Linked DNA regions of Homo sapiens: region 1 is linked to region 2. The links are contacts of gene promoters, found by promoter capture Hi-C in human tissues and cell types (Jung and others, 2019). All regions are on one chromosome and are shown on one strand. Each heading gives the region's core, a stretch centred on a gene start or on the middle of the fragment in contact. The rest is flanking DNA. Distances are from core to core; before and after follow the strand shown. Region 1 holds the start of LOC105377305 (a long non-coding RNA gene). Region 2 holds the start of BMP3 (bone morphogenetic protein 3).

Region 1 (3,639 bases), core at 1,128-3,627, 540 kb before region 2:
CTTGGGGGTTGGTTAGCAGAAATTAGTATCTCCTGAGCCTGCGACAGGAGGCTGAGACAACCCGCGTAAGTGACCAGCCAGCTGCTTCAGATATTAATTGTCCTCCTAATTGTAACTTGACTTTATCATGATCCATGTTACCTCTTATATGCTGTAAAACTCTAGTAAGCAAAACTTTCTTTTTAGATACCAATTCTCAAGTGGTTTTTAGACATTCACATAGCTTGGCCTCTCTTCTCCATTTCTAGGTGCTGCTTTAGTGCAGTGACTTTTTCAATTATGTGGAATACTTTGAAAAAAATGTATGTCACCAAAAAATGCAAAATAATCAATTTAGTAATTTCGAGCTATTCTTTAAATAATACCTGCCTATACTTGTCTCTCTTATTGATCCTCTTGACTTCCACAAATTACCGCACACTTTTGACTTGATGTTTTCAACATCCATCCCATAGAATATGAGATCTGTGAGTACAGAAAGCTCCTCTGTCTTGTTCACTGTGAATCTCTCATACCAGAAGAGGTCCCACATTATAATCTGTCAGTGAATAAATGCTGAACCAATAGGGTTTACATCCTATTATTATTCTTGTAGAAATAGTATAACTTACATATTCTTACAGAAATAGTATAACTTACATTCTTAACATTTAACAAGCTTTCATGGATATAATTTTTTTCACTTAAAGTTTAAATCACTTTACAAAACACATATATTTGGCTTTTTAAAAATCCCACAGTTTGAAATTCAATGCATTAAGTAGTGAATAAGTATGAGACTTAAGCTATTATAACAATTCAATAACTCAGTAAAATTTTTCTGCAGAAGGGATTACTGTCTTTTCAAAGACATAATTCACCTATTACTTTTTATTGTATAAATTTTGATTTCTACAGTATTTCTTGGAACAGGATTATGTGTGTGTGTGATTAATCCATCTTACTTACCTCTCCATTTTAGGAAAGACAAAAATTAGTTTCAACAGTGCTCAAGTAGTTTGTCATTCTGCTTGAAAAAAAATGAACATTTTACATTTGCCAAAAGTAAAAATATTCTAACACAAAATGCTTTAATATGTTTAAAATATAGATATCATTCAGCTTGAATCAAAATTATTAAACTGTAATAAAAATAACTGTAATATGCTTTTCAGAAAAGACCCACATTTTATGTAATGATTATTTTACTAAGCAAGACTTTTAAAACATTATAAGGATAGTTTTATCGTTTAAAAATAGAATTAATATAGATTAAACACCAGATTTTCTATAAGTTTTAAATGTTCATAAAATAAAGGTAGTAAATTAAACTTAGAATTCTGAATGCCAGTTGATAAAAACATTTCAGCAATAGTGTTTTTTTCAGGCTTTTAAAAAAATTATTTTCTGGAAAATATGTAAGAGCAACGTATATACATATATATCCAAATACAATTGTCCACATTCATAAATAGGACTTACAGATAATATAGCCGATTTCTTTCTCTATTTAAAGGAATTTTTTGTTGTATTCAGATAAACACAATATTACCCAGCTCTGGTAACTTTGGGAAACTTTCACTTTCTGTTCTCACCAAATGGTTTAGGTTAATGTTGAGGACTAAACTCTGATTTTTTTTTTCTTGCCCAAATTCCTATCTAAGGGGTCTGGGGAGTCATGCCCTATAAATCAGAAATTCTCATCAGATGGGTTTTATTTAACCATATATATCATGATTTACTTTCCAGACTGACTCTGGCCATAACATTATGAGACAAAAAGGAAAATCAAAATATTTTACCCCAAAACATGTTTCTTTGCCATATTTTGAAATGGCCCTGCAAAGCTGTTCTTTCTGAGAGAAAATCTGCTTCTGTAAAGAATCTCTATTAACATAGCTAAATCTTCTTCTTCCAGACCCTTCCAATCCTAAAGAGATTAACTAAGATCTGAATAGGAAACTTTTGTCACCTATTGTCTCTAAGGGCAGCCACTATAAGACTTCAAAAGAACTTTGGTCTCCACAATCTGTATCTTATTTTACCTTAATCTTTATCTTAACCGTTTTTGTCTATCCAGATCTTTAGACAAACTCAACCAATTGTCAACCAGAAAATATTTAAATTCACCTATAGCCTGGAAGCCTCCCGACTTTGAGTTGTTCCACCTTTCTGGGCCAAACCAATGCATTTCTTAAATGTATTTGAGTGATGTCTCATGCCTCTCTAACGTCTATAAAACCAAGCTGTGCCCCGACCACCTTGGGCACGTGTTCTCAGGACGGACTTCCTGAGGGCTATGTCATGGGCCATGGTCACTTATATTTGGCTCAGAATAAATCTCTTCAGATATTTTACAGATTTCGACTCTTTTCATCAACAATGTCTTTGTCAATGCACTGTCAGAATTAATGATAGGAATGTTTGTGAGAGTAAATAAACATATGATGGCTCATCATGATAAGCTAGCAGTTTTGAGGATCCAGGTAAAATAGATGGGACTAACAGGAGTTTAAAAGCAGAGTTTTTATGTAAGAGAAAATATAGGGACTTGGGAAGTGTATGGAGTCAGAGAAATGCAACTTGGTATAGTATGATACATAATTATTTAATAACACTAGAATTTTCAAGACACATTTTCATGCATCTAAAATGTCTGTTTAAAATACAGGTTTTATTATTATTAAGGTATGGTGAGGCCAACAGATCATGAGACATTCACCATTGAAAAGATGACTTGTTGCTTACAGTTCCTAGGAGGAAGGGTTTTCTCCTGGGCAAAGGCCTTTATCATGGTTTCTACAGGAAAGGCAAAGCAAGACTGAGTAAGCAGGCTTAGGATTGGCTAGTTTGAATAATTTCAGCAGGCCCTGGGGTGATGGAGACTGTGGGATGGTGGCCTGGAGTGTGAGAGCTCAGTGAGAGCCCGATAAAGGAGGCTGTTAGGAGGGTTGTGGCCTTTTAGTGGCTTGGTTTGCATATACAAAGTACACAGTCAGGTGAGTTATCTCCTATCTCCAGGAAGTGGTTAGCCCTAGGAGGGGCAGCCTCTGTAGAGTCAACAAGACTCCAGACACTGAAGCATCAGAACAAAAAGACATGCTTGACACAGTCTTTTGCCAATCATTAAGGTGTATAAGGTGTATATAATAGTTATAGTTATCCTCTTTAACTGCACATATTATGCATTCCCATTGTTATAAATAAAGTTTCAGTGCCACAAAAGAAATAGCACTTGAATATAAAACTTTCTTTTAATTATCAGCAAGGCAAGGTACTTCTGTAGAAGGGTGCACACTCACCGATGGTGGGTGCACATTTGGACAAGGGAGAGGAAGGGATTCTTATCCCTGATGCACGTGGCCCCTGCTACTGTGTCATTCCCCTATTGGCTAGGGTTAGATCTCACAGGCTAAACAAATTCCAATTGGCTAATTTAAAGATGATGGGATGAGTGCTTTGGCGGAGTCAGGGCAGAGCAGATAGCAGGTAATTGGAATGAGTTAGGGTGGAGCAGGTGATCAGAATGAGTTAGAGTAGAGCAGGTGATAGGAAAGAGTCAGGGTGGAGTAGGTAATCGAAAAAGGTTGCTTTATGAGGAAGTTAAGTTTAAAAGTAGAAGGCAAAGAATTGATCATACTGACATATTAATTCTTTGAA
Region 2 (4,042 bases), core at 988-3,487:
ATGCTGTCAGTCTTCAGTATCTATGAATGAAGAATCATGTGGAGTACAGAGTGGCAAATGTTGTGACAGAAATATGCACTGTAGCTAAAGGGAGGGAAGTCTCAAAGATGGTTTCAAAGGGGAAGAGGATGAACTTCTTTGGCAAGGAGGACTGGAGCTGAGGGGGACCCAGAACTATATATTTAAAGGCCAGAGGTGACCACCAAAGCAGAAGAACTGAAAAAGAATTTTCTTCTGGATTTGGCATTTTCCAAGGGCAGAGTAAAGATGTCAGGAACGCTTGAGGCAGGCCTAGAAAGAGGAGGCAGCTGACAGAACTGAGAAAGGGCAGAAAGGAATGGAAAAACAACCAATAGTTCACAGGGAAAAAATCAAAGAGAGAGTTTCCAGGGCCTATTGAATTTTGCAATTAGATCTTCATTATTAATCACAAAAGCTATTATGTTCTTTATGCCAAGCAAAGATCAAACACATGATCTCATTTAATCCTCACAACTACTCTTGAAATATGTGTTATTATCTGCAGAACAGTTCCCGGGGTGGCTAAGGGCAAAATCCAAACCGCAGTGGGTTAAGAAGTGACTGAGTGGGGAGAATGTAGTCTGGATTTGGGATAAATTTAGGATAGAAAGGGATTGAGCCCCTATTAAAGGCTAGTGAGTGCGCCAGTCACTTTAGCACTGCTTTCTAATGTCATCCAAACAAAACTCTAAAAGGAATGTGTTGTTATTCACCATCAAAGAAGAAACTCAGATCTGGAGACATGGTGTGACTCCAGGAGCCTATCTTCTTTTCGATCAACTCCATTGCCCTACAGAGGGGAAGAGGGATAAATGCAATAGACATTGACTGAAGATTTTACTGCATATGGTCAAGAACTGCACTAAACATTTACATGGATTGCACACTGAAACTTCAGTTTAAATGCTAATTTCACTATTAATAGTGTGGTTATCTGGCCTGAGGCCAGAAATCAGACTCCCTGAATTTGGATCTCAGTTCTGTCACTTACTATGTATCCTTTTGCCTCAGTTTCCTCATCTGTAAAATGGGTTTTGCTGTGAAAATTATTTGGTAATATACTTGAAATATAAATAACAAGGCATGTCTAGAGCATAAGTGTGGAGAAAAATGTTAGCTCACAGTTGTTTTTTGTTTGTTTGTTTGTTTTTTGTTTTGAGACAAAGTTTGCTCTGTCACCCAGTCTGGAGTGCAGTGGCACAATCTCGGCTCACTGCAACCTCCATCTCCTGGATTCAAGCCATTCTCTTGCCGCAGCCTTCCCAGTAGCTGGGATTACATGTGCGCACCACCACGCCCAGCTAATTTTTGTATTTTTAGTAGAGATGAGGTTTCACCATGTTGGCAAGGCTGGTCTCGAACTCCTGACTTCGTGATCCACCCGCTTTGGCCTTCCAAAGTGCTGGGATTACAGGCCTGAGCCACTGCGCCAGGCTGCTCATAGTTTAATCTCCATTGTACAGCCATGACAAGAGAGAATTAGGAAGACAAAGCTAGCGACTCTTACATTCTGTTCCGGACTCCGGGATCTTCCACACACCCTTGTTTTTAGCCACCACTGCACCATCCTGCTGGGAAACCTTTTGGGGACCTGTAGGAAGGAAACCTTTGGGGGAAGCTGTAGGTGGGGTTGTGGTGTGTTTGCTTGTTTTCTTATTTGTTTTTAACATGATATTGACTCGCACATATTTCTCACCTCGAGAGAAGATGATGCGGGAGAGAGGGGCGTTATGATGGGTATGCTCTCAGAAAGACAGGAAGCTATGATGACGGGCTGCAGGTGCAGGGGCCCGCAGTGTCCGTCAGAAGAGGCTCGGGAAAGTAAGCGAGAATGGTGTTCACGTTGTGACTTTGTTTGGAATCATAAGACCGAAAAGCCAGGAAGAAGTTCTGTTTTCCTCTGCCCTCTTGCTAGCCACCACACAGCCACTGTTCTTGGAGAATTAAAAAAAAAAACAAACAAAAACAAAACAAAACAAAACAAAAAAACCGTCCCTCCTACCATTTCTTTAGTCCTGAATCTCCTTTTCCCTTCCTCTCCCCAGCCATCCCCACCCCTACTTCCTCTTCTCTCCCTCCCGCTGCCAGTTCTCTGGTTACTCCCCCCCTCCCTTGCTTCTATCCCAGCCTGGTGCAAGCTAAGAGGGCGAGGACGAGGGAGTGGGAGAGATTGGCTGAGGACTCTACAGATCAGCTAGAGAGCGAAAGAACTAAGTCTCTCTCTCTCATACACACACACACACGCACACACGCGCGCGCGCGCGCGCACACACACACACACGTACACTAAAAAACTCGGACCAGCCGCGCCGCAGCTGCTCCAATCCCTGGAAAAGGCAATCGAGCGCCCTCCGGACCGCTGCGCACAGCCCCGGCTCCGACCTGGCGCCCAAAACAGAGCTAGTCCTAGTCCCTCGCGCGGCCAGTTTGGCCGGGTGTTCCCAAAAATAAAGCGAGGAGGGAAGGTACAGACAGATCTTGAAAACACCCGGGCCACACACGCCGCGACCTACAGCTCTTTCTCAGCGTTGGAGTGGAGACGGCGCCCGCAGCGCCCTGCGCGGGTGAGGTCCGCGCAGCTGCTGGGGAAGAGCCCACCTGTCAGGCTGCGCTGGGTCAGCGCAGCAAGTGGGGCTGGCCGCTATCTCGCTGCACCCGGCCGCGTCCCGGGCTCCGTGCGCCCTCGCCCCAGCTGGTTTGGAGTTCAACCCTCGGCTCCGCCGCCGGCTCCTTGCGCCTTCGGAGTGTCCCGCAGCGACGCCGGGAGCCGACGCGCCGCGCGGGTACCTAGCCATGGCTGGGGCGAGCAGGCTGCTCTTTCTGTGGCTGGGCTGCTTCTGCGTGAGCCTGGCGCAGGGAGAGAGACCGAAGCCACCTTTCCCGGAGCTCCGCAAAGCTGTGCCAGGTGACCGCACGGCAGGTGGTGGCCCGGACTCCGAGCTGCAGCCGCAAGACAAGGTCTCTGAACACATGCTGCGGCTCTATGACAGGTACAGCACGGTCCAGGCGGCCCGGACACCGGGCTCCCTGGAGGGAGGCTCGCAGCCCTGGCGCCCTCGGCTCCTGCGCGAAGGCAACACGGTTCGCAGCTTTCGGGCGGCAGCAGCAGGTGAGTGCGCGAGGTGAGACTCCCTTCCCGCGGTCCCGCCCCAGCTTTCTCCCGGGACCCCCCACAGCTTCCTTGTCTGCCCCTTGCTTGGTGGCGCTGCCTAGGGACCTTTCTCCGCCCTCCTCAGCTGCCCTCTGGATTCCTCCGTCCAGTCACACCCCGCGTGTCGCCAGCTGCATCTCCTGTAAGCCCAGTTTTCAAATCCAAAGTGAGAGGGGGAAATAGAATGAAGGCGCGGAGCAGTGGAGGGGTAGGCTGGAGGAGCTTCGTGGAAAAAGGGAAGGGGCGACACCCCATGCCTGTGAGGCCTCCTGCCCTGAGTGACTGGAGCACCTCTAGGGTACCTTATTCTGTTGATTCCTAAATCGGCCAGCGGAAATTCCTTTGGACTGGGCTTTAGCCATGTTTACTAAGAGGCAGATGCCATTTTATGCCAATGCCAGGACCCGAGAGAAATCATACTTGAATAAGACGCCTTCCCCTCTCCTTTTCTCCTTCCCCAGTCGCTTCTCCAGATATTGCACCCGCTCCTAATTCGCGCCCTTTGTGTTACTGTACTATATTTGACACTTTACTTGATAGTTCCTTAGTGGCAAAAAAAAAAAAAAAAAAAAAAAAAACAGGTGCTTGGGTGTTTCGATTATTAAAACGCATCTGGGTAAACAGGGGTTGTACCATCCATCCTGGGAGGAGCTGGGAGACAAGGGGAGGGAGCAACCCTGGATGTAAACACCTCTTGGAATCTGCCCAAGAAAATCTGCTCATCCCATTTTTCAGCACAGATCACTTCGGACTGAAATTCATGGCTTAACAAGGTTTCTCCTAGCCCCTGTGGTGAAGGGAATAACTTATGCTAACAGCCTCCCTCCCTTGTGTTAACAGCTTGAGGGAAAGCTTCCTGGACACTAACTC

The links. Contacts are between HindIII fragments. The study calls those that stand out against the background at their distance.
Region 1: a fragment that was not itself captured here is called in contact with the fragment with the promoter of BMP3 in region 2 in 2 of the 25 tissues and cell types used here (H1 embryonic stem cells and spleen).

What each region holds. Positions count from the first base shown.
Region 1 is chr4:80,490,010-80,493,648 of GRCh38, forward strand. All of the region lies in intron 2 of CFAP299 (cilia and flagella associated protein 299), which reads left to right. It overlaps LOC105377305 (a long non-coding RNA gene), which reads right to left and starts at 1,541. Exons shown (of 3, transcript XR_938931.3): 1 at 1,462-1,541; 2 at 949-1,006. The HindIII fragment of the contact is 7,546 bases long and covers 1-3,639 here.
Region 2 is chr4:81,028,471-81,032,512 of GRCh38, forward strand. It overlaps BMP3 (bone morphogenetic protein 3), which reads left to right and starts at 2,238. Exons shown (of 3, transcript NM_001201.5): 1 at 2,238-3,130. The coding sequence starts at 2,815. The HindIII fragment of the contact is 7,363 bases long and covers 1-4,042 here.